Linked DNA regions of Homo sapiens: all the other regions are linked to region 1. The links are contacts of gene promoters, found by promoter capture Hi-C in human tissues and cell types (Jung and others, 2019). All regions are on one chromosome and are shown on one strand. The core of a region is centred on a gene start or on the middle of the fragment in contact, and the rest is flanking DNA. Distances in the headings are between cores, read along the strand shown.

Evidence for each region. Contacts are between HindIII fragments. The study calls those that stand out against the background at their distance.
Region 2: a contact is called between a fragment that was not itself captured here and the fragment with the promoter of TMEM121 in region 1, in 1 of the 25 tissues and cell types used here (H1 embryonic stem cells).
Region 3: a contact is called between a fragment that was not itself captured here and the fragment with the promoter of TMEM121 in region 1, in 1 of the 25 tissues and cell types used here (lymphoblastoid cells).

What each region holds. Positions count from the first base shown.
Region 1 is chr14:105,523,272-105,528,110 of GRCh38, reverse strand. TMEM121 (transmembrane protein 121) reads right to left here and starts at 1,528. Exons shown (of 2, transcript NM_025268.4): 1 at 1,458-1,528. The HindIII fragment of the contact is 20,488 bases long and covers 1-4,839 here.
Region 2 is chr14:105,831,081-105,835,724 of GRCh38, reverse strand. It overlaps IGH. Among named protein-coding and RNA genes, the nearest start is that of MIR4539, 24 kb to the left of the region's middle. The HindIII fragment of the contact is 5,609 bases long and covers 1-4,644 here.
Region 3 is chr14:105,980,811-105,985,224 of GRCh38, reverse strand. It overlaps IGH. Among named protein-coding and RNA genes, the nearest start is that of FAM30A, 65 kb to the right of the region's middle. RefSeq lists an enhancer at 4,195-4,414. The HindIII fragment of the contact is 7,810 bases long and covers 1-4,414 here.

The DNA.
Region 1 (4,839 bases), core at 279-2,778:
CTGTCCACCATCCTGGGCGCGTGGCCACTGCCTGCCCTGCTCCCCATGGCTCCGCATTGCCTTGGCGAGGTGTTGTCCCCCACCCTCTGCCCCGGCAGAGCCACCCTGCTTTGCTCCTCTGCGCCAGGGCGATGCCTGTGGCTGCCCTCGAATCTCGGGAAGCCCGTCCACCAAGGCCCGTCGGGCTTCCACAGGCCCCTGCACCTCTGTCACACACCTGGCACTGGTCCTCATGGCCGTGCTGTCGGAGTCCCCGCACCTGGGCCTGTGCACACCTGGGTGACAATGGAGGCCCGCACACCCGCACCCACCCCAAAGTCACTGACAGGCTTACTCCCAGCCAGCCCCTCACCCCCTCCACAGCCCCAGGCCTGGGGCTCCGTTTACTGCCGTGTCTAGACAAAGGCATAAAATTTAATGTCCCCGTGACAGTCGGGCGCTCGGACTGCCCTGGTGACACCGCAGGCCCCACCGATCCGGGAAAGCGTTGAACTCTGCACTCCCACCCCTGCCCCCACCCAGCACCCGCCGCCCAGGATCCCCACAGCCACACACAGGACACCCCCACCCCTCGGAGCTCTGACAGGTCGCGAGGAGGGTGCCTTGAGGGTCCTCAGCCCATGCCCCTGCCTCCAAGCCTCCCCGCGCTCTGGGTCCCACCGGGACACTCACCCGGTTTTCACGTCCACTGGATCTACACGTCTGACCCAGGAAGCCCTCTCTGGGCCCATTCCAGGCCCACCTGGGCCTCCCCTAGCTGCAGCCGCAGCCTGAGAATTTCCTCCCTCTCCGCGCGTGGCGGGGCCAAATAAATAGCGGGGGAGCCACGGCGCCGCTCACCCTTTCCGGCCGTGCCTCCAGCCCCTCCGCCCCACTACGCTGTCGCTCGATCCTCAGTCACTTGGCAGATGCGGGCCGAGGGGCTCTGCGCTGGCGAAGGGACGGACTCCAGCCCCTAGCGGAGCCCCTACCCCGGCAAGCCAGAGCCCGGCCCGGCCACCTCTCCGTAGGGACCTGGCCCCAGGCCCACCTGTCCTGGGTCTCCTGGGCCCCGGCCGAGGCCCCTCCTCCCCCCACGCCCCGCGGCTCAGACCTGGCACAGACTCTGGGGCCTCCAGGCCCTTCACTGCCCGGGCCCCGCAAGGACCCTCGCCCCATAACCACCCCTCGGAGCCCCCGGGAGGAGGGGCGGGAGGGGGCTGCTGTGCTCCCGCCGCGGGCCGGTGCAGAGCTTGGGCCGCTCCCAGCAGGCTGCGTCTCTGCTTGTCCCCCCGAGGCTTCCCCACGCAGGGCCGGGTCCCCGTCACCCCGCCGGCCCCAGGCCTCACCCCTGCCGCATCGGCCCCCGCCCCACCCCACAGTCCCCACGGCCCAGAGGTGCAGGGTCGCCCAGGCCCGCCGCCCCCTCCGCGGACGCAGCCGCGCACCCAGCCAGTCCCGCCCGCGCCCGCGCCTACCCCGCCGCCCGCAGATGCTGCGCCGCTCCCGGGCCCGCCCGCCCAGCCTCTGCCGCCACTGCCGGGGCCGCGCCGGCTCCTCCCGCCGCGCCCCTCCCCCGCCCGCGCGGCACCGCCCCCGACCCAGAGGCCCCGCCCCGCGCCCCTCGGCCCGCGAGCCCCGCCGGACCTGGGGACCTGGGAGCGCGGGGGTGCCGGTGCCCCGCCCCCTCCGCAGCGCCGGTTGCCACGGCGACAGCACCGCGCGGCGGCGCGCAGGACTGGTGGCTCTGGGGAGCGGGGCGCCCTCGCGCACCCCCAGGCGCGGAGTCCCGTCTCCACCCTCCTCACCCACCGCCCAGAATCCCAGGGTCCCGCCCAGTGCCCCCCGCGCCCTGAAACTCCGCTGCCGCCCCCTAGAGCGACCCCACTCAGCCGGACAGGCGCCCACCGGCCCAGGAGCTGACAGGGATGTAGGCGCGGGGCTGGCCTGGCCGCCGGGGCCCTCCGCGCCACCCTCTGTCCTCTTTGGGGAGAAACCCAGCCTTCCCAGGTTTCTTCTCAGGGCAGAGGAAAGGAATGATGAGCGGCCCCCACCTTCTTCTCCAGCCCGTCCAGGAGGCAAGCTAGGGTTTGGGGACTTGGGCTTCATTTTGTCACTGAGGTGGCACTAAGCCCCTCCCCCCACATCCTGTCCATCCCGTGTGAGCCAGAGAAGAACCCGAGGGCACCTTCTGCCTGCCTGCCCTCCTTCCCAGAACTGCTGTGACTTCCCTCTGACATAGGAGGAGACTGAGGGTCAGAGAGGTAAAGGGACACCAGATTTGGTGGAAAGACCAGAATTTGAGGCACCACCCAACTGGTAGTGAACTTCCAGATTCTCTTCCCGTATCCCCGGGCCTGGACTCAACACGGCCTGAAAGCCAGAAGAGGACAGAGAGCTCCAGAAGTTCTCTAGTCCTGGCACAAGGGGAGGAAAGAAAAAGGTCGCCTAATGCTCCCAGGGTGCAGGAGAATGCCCGGGGGGATGTTAGGGTTTGGGAGGATGGGGTTTTTTGGTAGTGGTTGTTTTTTTACTCTTCTCCATTCTCTGATGCCCCAGCCCCTAGGTATCCCACCAAAGCCATGACCAAGGCATAGGGTTTACAAGCACCTAAAACGCTGAGGCAGAAGAGCCTTCCTTTCCAGCCCCAGGAGATGTGGTCCCCTGTCGCTGGAGAGATGGTGGGCAGGGAGAAGCAGTAGAAAGCAATCCATGGGCTGGGCGTGGTGGCTCACACCTGTAATTCCAGCACTTTGGGAGGCCGATGTGGGCGGATTACCTGAGGTCGGGAGTTCGAGACCAGCCTGGCCAACATGGTGAAACCCCCATCTCTACTAAAAATATAAAAATTAGCCGGGCGTGGTGGCACACACCTGTAATCCCAGCTACTCGGGAGGCTGAAGCAGGAGAATTGCTTGAGTCCGGGAGATGGAGGTTGCAGTGAGCCGAGATCTTGCCACTGCACTCCAGCCTGGGCAACAGAGTGAGACTCTGTCTCAAAAAAAAAAAAAAAAAAAAAGCAACCCCAGGAAGTTGTGCAAGCCATACATGATGTACAAGTCTAAACCCTCATTCACATCCCAAAGGCTGAGAACTGAACAAAAGGACAGCCCACTGCCCACGTCCCACACTGGCCACTGGGCAGTGCATACGAAGGACAGATCTGAGTCCCACTGCAAAGGCTTTGAAAACAAAACCGACATGGAAGGCAGGACCCACAGGAGCCTATTTGAACTTGTGGCCTGAAACCAACTAGGTTGATTGCATGATAAAACAAAATGCCAACATTCTCAATGGGATTTAAATAAGACCAGTCTCATAACATAATGTCTAAATGTGCAGGAGACAATCTAAAATTACTCTGCATGTGAAGAATCAGGAAATCCAACCTGCAAGAGAAAAGACAATCAACAGCCGCCAATGCCAACATGACACAAAAACCCTCAACTAATTATCAGCAAATAGAATCAAGCAGCATTAAAAACACACACACACAAATACCCCAACCAAATGGAGGCTATCCCAGAAAGGCAAGGCTGGTTCAACATGTGAAAATAAATCGATGTGATCCACCATATTAGTCTCAAGAAGAAAACCATGTGATCATCTCAATCAATTCAAAGAAAGTATTTGACGGAATTCAACACTCATCCCTGATAAACACTCTCAGCAAACTAGAAAGCAAAGGGAACATGCTTAATCTCATAAAAGGAATCTACAAAAAGCAACAACAAAAACAACAGGCCAGGCATGGTGGCTCACCCCTGCAATCTCAACATTTTGGGAGGCCAGGAGTTCAAGACCAGCCCGGGCAACATGGAGAGATTCCATATCTGTTATTTTTAATTAAAAAAAAAATTAGGCCAGGCACTGTGGCTCATGCCTCTAATACCAGCATTTTGGGAGGCCAAAGTGGGCGGATTGCTTGAGCTTGAGTTCAAGACCAGCCTGGGAAACATGGTGAAACCCTGTCTCTACAAAAAATACAAAACAATCTGGCCGGATGTGGTGGCTCACGCCTGTAATCCCAGCACTTTGGGAGGCCAAGGCAGGCAGATCACCTGAGCTCAGGAGTTCTATGCCAGCCTGGGCAACATGGCGAAACACCATCTCTACTTAAAACACACACACACACACACACACATTAGCAGGGTACAGTGACACACACCTGTAATCCCAGCTACTCAGGAGGCTGAGGCATGAGAATCGCTTGAACTTGGGAGGCAGAGGTTGCAGTGAACTAAGATCGCACCACTGCACTCCAGTGTGGGCAACAGAGGAAGACCCTGTCCAAAAAAGAAAAAAAAAAAAAAAAAAAACCTCTGCATCTAATGTGATACTTAATAATGAAGGACTAAATGCTGAGCCCTAAGATCAGGAACAAGGTAAAGATGTCCACTCTATTCACTCCTGTTCCACAGTGTACTGGCAGTCCTAACCCATGCAATAAAACCAGAAAAATAAAAGGCATACAGATTAGAAAGGAAGAAATAAAGATGTCCCTATCCATAAATAACATAAAAGTCTATGTCGAAAATCCCAAGAATTTTACCAACAAAAAAGTCAGAATACTAATAAGTGAGTTTTGCAAGGTTGCAGGATGAAAACACAGAACTCAGTCCTGTTTCTATATATTAGCAATGAACAATTGAAAACCAAAATTTTTAAAAGCAATGCTATTTAAAATGGTCCCCCAGTAAATTTATTCGTTTGGTATTAATCTAACAAGACTGGTACAGGATTTGTATACTGAAAACTACCAAATGCTGATAAAAGAAATCAAAGAAGGCCTAAATATGTGAGAGGCATGCTGTGTTCCTGAATTAGAACAAATATAGTTAAGATACCAATTCTCTCCAA
Region 2 (4,644 bases), core at 871-3,370, 310 kb before region 1:
TGGTGGGAAATAAGTTTCTGTTGTTTCTCAGCCACCACGTCTGTAGTATGTGGAAGTCATCAGAATCAAAATTGAGTCACCTGTGGTTTTTTTTTTTTCTAAATCCCTGACAAATAGAGCCTAGGAAGGCCAAGAAGAGAAGAGGGTTCTCATCCATAAACACTTGATAACAAAAACTATCACCAAGGACTCTACAAAAACTGCAACTGGCACAAAGACCATCACAACCTTACACAGAAAGTACTTCTGTGAGGACATCTTCCCAGCAACGGGCTGTCCAACCTCAGACTGGCATTGCCTTTGTTATTGGTCCTTGTAGAGAGGGTAATTATCTCAAAGCAATCATGTAATCCTCCTCATTTTTCCTTTGAAAGCCTTGGTCTCCCTTTGCCTCCCTGAATACGCACATAGCTGATCATGGCAGGTGTATCCCACTGCAGTGCTCTACCTCCAAATAGATATCTTTTTCTTTTAGACGGCATTTCTCTTGTTATTTAGATTGAGATACATGGAGTCAGAAGTGGGATGTGGAGAAGGATCACTGCTGGAAGGAGTCAGTAATTCTTGGGCCGGTGTGCAGTATTCACTTGAGCCCTTTGAGCTCTCAGCTTTTTCTGAGCTACTCCGTCTTCTCTCAGGCCAACCCTCCCTCTTTTTGGAAGATGCTTTTTTAATATTATGTGGGGTTTGTTTATTAGACTGCCTTAATAAAGGACCTTATGTCCCTCCTGGGATGATAAAAGGCTTTTCGTGCTTTCTGGCAAGTCCTGTTTAGCATAAAGACATTCCAGCCTGAGTACTCTGGTTTCCACAGAGTTTGCATTCTGTCTCTGAGGGATGTCTTCTCTGGTGAGGTGCCTCCTTTAATACTTTGTTGGATATGCATGCCTGGGTGAACATATTTGTGAGCACCCTTATCTTGCCTTCTTTTGCTGTGGTTATGTGTATCTGTAAATGACCTGGCTCTTTTCCTCTGCTTGCTTCTAAAAATCTTTGGAGAGCAAAATAAACATTCTAAATGGTGGGCACAGGCTGTCTCATTAGAAGCTGCTACAGCAGTCACCACCGTCTAAAGCACCAGTCCAAACTGCCGGCGTGGCCTCATAGTATCTGTAGAATGTTCTTTACTGTAAAAAGATTAATAAGAAGGGGAATGGTTTTTAAATATTAAGGCACAGTAAGTTTTCTGGAACTCCCGCTGGCTACGTCTTTGTGCACATTTTTAAACTAATGGGCAAATTACGTCAAGGAAAATTTAGAGTTCCAATGGTTATTTTTCGAACTCTAACAAAAACCCTGCAACAGTAGTCATCATGCAGTGCCTCCTAAGTCCTCTATCTCTCTATTTTGTTTTTCTGCCTACTTTAAATCTGCTGACTTTTTTACTCATGTTGCAATAAAACTCACTGGTTACAGCATTCCAGCCAAGATATTTTTGGTTTTTTGTTTGTTTGTTTTTTGTTTTTTGTTTTTTTAGATGGAGTCTCACTCTGTCACCCAGGCTGGAATGCAGTGGCGCTATCTTGGGTCGCTGCAACCTCTGCCTCTCGGGTTCAAGTGATTCTCCTGCCTCAGCCTCCTGAGTAGCTGATTACAGGTGCCCGCCACCATGCCCAGCTAATTTTTGTATTTTAGTAGAGACAGGCTTTCACTGTGTTGGCCAAGCTCGTCTTGAACTCCTGACCTCAAGTGATCCACCTGCCTTGGCCTCCCAAAGTGCTAAAACTATAGGCGTGTGCCACCGTGCCTGGCCCAAGATTTTTTAAAGTTTCCTAAAGGTTTTAAATTAGTGGCTTTACAAATTACAACAGCTCTATGGTAACCAATGACCTAGATGTAAGAGTCATTTCTTTTGAAAATGTAGATTAGCTTTGCTTGGCTAACAACTGCTTAGGCTGATGGAATAGCTAACTGAAGGACTGATGGTCTCAAAGAACAGAACTAGGTAAATATTTACAGAAATTGGGCTTTCAGATCGAACAGGCCAAAATCTTGAGCTTAGAGCAGTAATATAAGGTATCTCTGTCTGCCATAAAAATTTTGCTTTGCCACAGGTGCCAGAAAAAGGAAAAACACTGCTAAATGCTTCCCTGCATGCATTGTCTAGTCCAGAAAATCAGACCAGCAACCAAAAAATAGATTTGTTACTAGTATAGACGAGTTGAAGATTTTGTTTTTCATATACAATTCAGCCAGTCCTAGCTAAAACGCAATCACTGGAAATTTAACCTTAAATTCATTTAAAACTGAAAAAGGTCTTTTGAAATCAAACTAATGCAGAAACTGCTTTACCCAAAATTCTGATCCATGGCCCTCATTAGACGACCCATCAGGACAAATAAAGTTTAGCTTGTGAACAAGTCCCAGTTTTGTCAAAAATATAATTTGGATTGAAGTGTCTTTTAGAAACTGACACATTTGTGTTATTATCTCATGACCAAAATTCTAAAATGAAAGCTACAGTGTCTTTATTTGTGTGCGTATGTGGTTAATTGTGTTTATGCATATGTATGTGTATTATGTTGTATGTTGTTATCTACATGGTAAAATCTGGCATCATCAACAAAAAATCTATTAAGGGATTCTATTTAGATTGGCTTAGATAAATAAGCATTCATAAAAAATATGTACTAATTAACCCAAATGCCTTTTAGTTCATGTGACTTAAGTATATCTTTAATAAACAAATCAGTTTTAAAATTGTTGGTAAAATAAAAATACAAATGTTCTCAGAATTGTCAGCATATATTTTTCCCTGAGTTTACTCGTCAGACAGCTTTATATTTGTCTCTGATAGATGTTTTAAGATGTCAGGGTTTGACACAAAGATGATAAAACTATAAACCCATCCTAAAACAGAATAATCTTTGTATGATCTTTGATAAATAAGACTAATTTGGCTGAGTGCGGTGGTTCATGCCTGTAATTCCAGCACTTTGGGAGGCCAAGGTGGGCAGATGACTAGAGGTCAGGACTTTGAGACCAGCCTGGCCAACACAGCAAAACCCCATCCCTACTAAAAGTACAAAATTAGCCAGGTGTGGTGGTGGGCATAATCCCAGCTACTTGGGAGCCTGAGGCAGGAAAGTCACTGGAACCCGGGAGGCAGAGGTTGCAATGAGCCAAGAGAGCGCCACTGCACTCCAGCCTAGGCAACAGCGAGACTCCATCTCAAAAAAAAAAAAAAAGGCTAATTTAATATTGCAGGCTTAATAAAAACAGCTGTATCTTATGAGCTATCGACAAAATACCCATACACTTCACTAAGTTTCTTACTAAGTGAACATCTAATAATCACAGGCTATAAAAATGGTTAAAAGGGAAATAACTTTAAGTAATGGCTAGCTTTGTCTAATATCTCAATTTTCATAAGTAATCTAGGTAAATTATTAAAAATAAATTAATTAAGCCTGGTGTCATGGCACACGCCTATAGTCCTAGCTACTCAGGAGGCTGAGGTGGGAGGATTGCTTGAGCCCGGAAGTTCAGACCACCCTGAGCGATGCAACAAGACCCCCATCACTAAAATAAATAAATAAATAAGATAAATGTCAAGAAAATAAATGTTTATAAATAAGCTTCTTATGTAATTTAAGATCTTAAAATTATGTTATCTTCAGTTAAATAATAGATACTCATTAAATGTCTGGGTCATTTCCAAATAAGATTTTTAAAACTAACACAAATTACTGAACATAAATGTTTGTTCTTGGCTTCTTAAATTTTATAGAAATTTTGTAGAAAGACTAAATTTATTTGGGTCTATTAATATATGTAAAAATTATGTCATAGAAATATGTTTTCAAAAATTATAAAATTTTTCTCATCTATAAAATAGTGATATGTGACAAATGGTTAAAATTTGCTTGCTAGAAAATAAGGTTACTAAGAGTTAAAATTCTAATTAATATATATAATTCTGTCTACAAAGTATACCACAAAAAATAAGATGTGTTTTTCATTTTTAAAAACTATAAGACAGGCATTTATAATTTATTTTACTGCAAAAAAAAATTTATCTAATTTGGAGTTTGTTTAAAGGTTGTTTCAAAGCACAGATTTAGGAAAAAAGTAAAAACAAGATGGAAAAGAACCACTCTCATCTGCCCCCACGTAAGACGTACCTGCTCCCCTTCCACCACGACTGTGTTTCCCAAGGCCTCTCCAGCCATGTGGAACTGAATTTAATCTACAAATAGAGTTGATCAAGTAACTTTAAGGTATATGGACAATAATATGCTTTGCAGCATAAAGACCTGAAAACAAACTAAATGCCCATCAGTGGGAAATTGTTTCAATAAACCACAGAACATTCCGTGGAAAACTCCACAGCCATTCAAAAGAATGAAGGGGGAGAGATCATCATGGTGGACAGGAGTCAGGACTAGATTGCAGTCCGACTGGGATGGACAGAGCACATGTGGAGGCTGGCACCGTGAATTTTAGCTCCAGAACAACTGCAGGAATAAATCAGGAATCCCAAGAGGATCCACAGACCATGTGAAGGAAGCAGCCTGCTCCTGCAGGACCCAGAGACACCCCAAATACTGTGAGTGCCCAAACTGTGGAAGTGGGAATGGGAGATCGTCCATCCTGCACACACACCCTCACTAGAGAAACCAAAGGTCTAGTTGGTGGGAAAAG
Region 3 (4,414 bases), core at 596-3,095, 460 kb before region 1:
ACCCAGAAGTTTATTCCTTGTCTGTGAAGGACATCTGAATCCCTGGCCTATCCCTTGGAACACAGGATGTCCAGGTGATTGATGCTCTTTGTTAAATCTGGAGGTTGCTAGGTAGAGGGTGCTAAGTGAAAATCATAATATAAACTACATGTGTTTTACAAATGGTAGTGGTTTTCCTGTCCAACACACTTTTCCTGGGCCACATTGTATGCAAGTCCTCAATACACCCTAGGTCTTGTTCATGGGCTCCAGGTCTCCTCTTCAGCCTTTTGGACATGGTGCCACGCCTATTACAGTCAATAGGGGTCTAGCATGACAACTGGTAGGCCCAGAACAAGGTCAAAGAAAATCCTGCAAGCTCTTAGACAACAGCGTCAAGGAAGGGGAGACCTGTGAGGAAATCCCAGGCAGGCCATGCACATCTCTGTGGGCCCAACAGCTGCAATCCTTGATGGATGGGGCCCGCTGCATGTGTACGGGGATGCCTCCAAAATGCCAAAAGTTCTGGAGGACCTGTTGCCTGAGGTGGATGTGACAATGTGACAAAGTGACAGTCAGATTCCTGAGCTGTGGCAGCTGTTGGCCACTCCTGACTGCACTCTGAGCAACCACTGAGGCAGAGCTCATTGCACAGGCTAGGGTGTGTCAGCCACGAGAACAGTTGTAACTATAATGAGATGCCGCCTGTAGGGATAGGATAGCAAATTGGAGACTATTGTTTATTTGGTAGGCCATTTAAAGTGTTGCTGACTGCCACACCAATGCATTAGGACTACTATGACTACGTCATCCTGGGAGCCTAAGTCCTGGCGTCCGATGTAGAGCTCCAGTGGGAAGGAGATGAAGGTTAGGATGAGTCCATAAAGGTTCTTGCTCTGCAGCCCCTGCTTTGCTGTCTCACTTGGTGAACAGAGGATGGGAGGTCAATGCGGACAAAGTCCAGGGTCCAGGCTTATCAGTCAAATACTTGGTGTCATCTGGTTACATAAGACTATAGTTATTCCATATTTCATCATAGATAAGATAAGATGCAGGTCTACTCATGTCCCACCACACCAAAGCAGTTGGAAACCTCCCAAGGCCTCCTGGGACATTGGCGATCCTTTATTCCCCATTTCGGCAAACCCCTTGGGCCCCCATGGCACTTAGACAAGAAGGTGCCCCACTGCGACTGTTCCAAAAGGGAGGATGAGGGCTCTGAAGAAGCTGAAGTCACAGTGAAATGAATACAAACCTTGGGAGTTCTAGTGCAGGGACAGCCCTGTGAATTGGATGTAGTCAGTTACCCTGAGGGGTTTAGGTGGGGACTGTGTTAAAGGCAAGGACATAAGTGTGTGTCCCTAAGACCCTGGTCTCAAAGACAGAAGGAAGCTGAAGTGAGATATACTGTTTAGGAGTAGCAACTGCACTACATGTCATGCCTTACGAGTGTAGGATGTGACAAAGAGGGCCACTCCACATCCGGAACAACCTTTAGCAGGCTGGCTAAAGGATGCCTTCCAGACACAAAAGCCTTGGAATGCCAGGACACAGTCTGTAGCCAAATGGTACTTGTGGTGGTCACCACCAACATAAAAGTGGGCCAACTGTGCCAGCAGAAGTTAGCCCCACAGAACTTTCCCCCACCTAAGAGAAGGCAGTGCACCACAATGCGGAATTCCACCACTGTGGAATTGGGGGAGCTTAGAATTGGATTCAGACACAAGGGGAGAGAGTGGATCACAGGGTGGCTTCTCTATGGGATAGGGGGTGGAGAGTATTATACTCTCTGGACTCAAGATGAGTAAAATGACACCCATCACAAACCATCCAGCCCTATGATGGCACCTTTATGGTAAGTGGTTGCAGGCTCCAAGGGGGCCGGGTCCAATGAGGAAGATGCCCCCACAGCTCGTTCTCAATGGCAGACTATAGAAGAGTTGCAGGATATCTTCTGGGAGTCGAGATGAGGCATGCTAATTATGCTGAGAATTATTGAAGTCCCAACAATGAATTGTTTACTGCAAAATAAAAGCTACAGTTATGTATTCAGTGCCTACCCAATGGCATGGTGCACTGATTTCCATGTTAAGCCCCCTGGGAGGGCAGCCAACATTTCATGTGCCCCAGGTAGTTGCTGACTTAGGAGAAAAGAAGAAACTGAGTAAGCAAGGGATGCACCCTACTGTGATGAAGAACAATGGCACCAAAGGAAGAGAGACAGCCAAGGAGCCAGTCAGGGTGGCCAGACAACGAATGTGCTCTAACTGGCAACACCTACCAGTTCTCTGGGCCCATAGCGGCAATAGGTGGTTATGGAAGGGCCACGGAAGTCAGACCGGTTGAACTAGTGATACGACCTGGGGGACTGCCACCCAGACCCTGTGTAGTATACACAGCTTCCATCCTAGAACACATGAGAATGGATATCTTCTTAGGCGTGACCCTCCAAACAACGGCCAGGGAATTCCAACGGAGAGTTAGAGTGGTGATGTGTGTGACCAAGCAGAAGGCAAACTGGATGCCAGTAGAGCTGCCAACCCATGGGGAGTCCCACAGCTGGAGCAACACCACCTGCCCTGGGAGGGGAAGATGATCCAATCATGAAGATTGTTAAGGAGCTAGCCCAGGTAGGCATTAGGAGGCCACTGCATGGTTCCTACAACAGACCTGCATGGCCCATGCAGAGGCCAGTTGAGACATGGAGAATGACAGTAGATTACTGGGAGTTAAATAAGGTGGTCTCCCGAGTGAATGCAGCTGTTCCTAATATCTCCTCCAGTCTGACGAGAATAGGAGAGGTGTTAGCCACGTAGCATTTCCTTATCAGTTTAGTCAATACCTTCTTCAGCATTTCTGTTGCCCCAGAGTCAAGATCAATTTGCATTAACCTAAAAAGAACAATGGACTTTTACTGTCTTGTTCCAGGGATATTTACACAGCCCAAATCTCACAGCCTAGTGACCTCCAACCTCAGTCGATGGGCTGACCCAAAGGGGATACATGTTTTCCACTACATTGGTGTTATCATGATAACCTCTGAGTCTTTTTTCAGCTTATAAATTACAGCCCCTGTCTTGCTGTCTCACTTGCTGAATAGAGGATGGGAGGTTAATACAGACAAAATCCAGGGTCCAGGCTTATCAGTCAAATAGTTGGTGTCATCTGGTTGGGTAAAACTAAAGTCATTCCATCTGCCATCATAGATAAGGTGCAGGCCTACCCACGTCCCACCACAACAAAGCAGCTGCAAACTCTCAAGGCCTTCTGGAGCATCAGTGTCCTTTTATTCCTTTTATTTGACATCCCTGAAGGAGGCTGCTAGGGGAGACTGTGTCCCTCCTAAATTCATGTGCTGAAGTCCCAACCCTTGGTCCTTCAGAATGAAATCATACTTGGATTAGTGTCCTTTAAAGAGGTGAATAAGTTAAAGTGAGATTCCTGGAGTGGGGCCCTAATGCAATCTGACTGTTGTTATAAGAAGAGGAAGCAGGAGGGAGGGTGCACAGGCCCCGAGGGACGGCCATGTTACCACAGAACAGTGAGAAGGCGCCATCTGCATGCCAGGGAGCGAGACCTCAGAGGAAACCCACCCAGCTGGCAGCTTGATCTTAGGCTTTCATCCTCCATAAGTGTGAGGAAATTGGTTTTGTATTGTAAGCCATCCGATCTGTGGTATTTCGTTATAAAAGCCCTATAAAATGAATACAGTAGGTAATAGGAGAGCTTCTATACATTGAAAAAGTCGGATGGCCAGAAAAACCTAGACACTCCTGTTCAGACCTGAGCAGGGTGATGGACCTGCTTTGGGACAGGAGAGGGGAAGAGATGAACCCAGCACCCAGACCCAGCTGAGCCCATTCCTCAGCAGGCCGTCCCTGGGCCGGAGCTTGCACAGGTGTGAAAGAGCCTGTCTTGGTCTTCAGGGGCTCATGGAGTTGGACGGAGAATGGTGTAGACTCAAGAACACGTCATCGGTGTGCCCGTGTTTATGTGAATGGGATGTGTTTCTAGGGTGTGCTCATCCCCAAAGAAGAATTAATCAGGTCTCTTGGGCTAGAAAGAGGTTGTGGCATTTGTGTGTATTAATAACTGTGGTCGGACAGTAAATTATGTTAAACTGCTTATGGGAAGGCACAATGGAAAGAAACACTTTGTTACAGAAGGAAAAAAAAGGTGATTATTTAAATGAGGTGCCTTTGAAGGTCACCATGCCAAGAGGAGCCCATCACATGATAGTGCTGGCTTTCATGTTCAGGAGATCAGGAGGGTCCGTCCGCTGGCTTTTATGACACCCTAGACAGAGCTGAGAGTGTAATGTATGAATGGAGGGGAAGTGGAGAGAGGGGAGGCCAAATGTTTGGTGGGAATGGAGGGTCACTATTGGAGCCATTAGGAAATACACAAGCATGAATTATGCTGGAGGACAGAACAG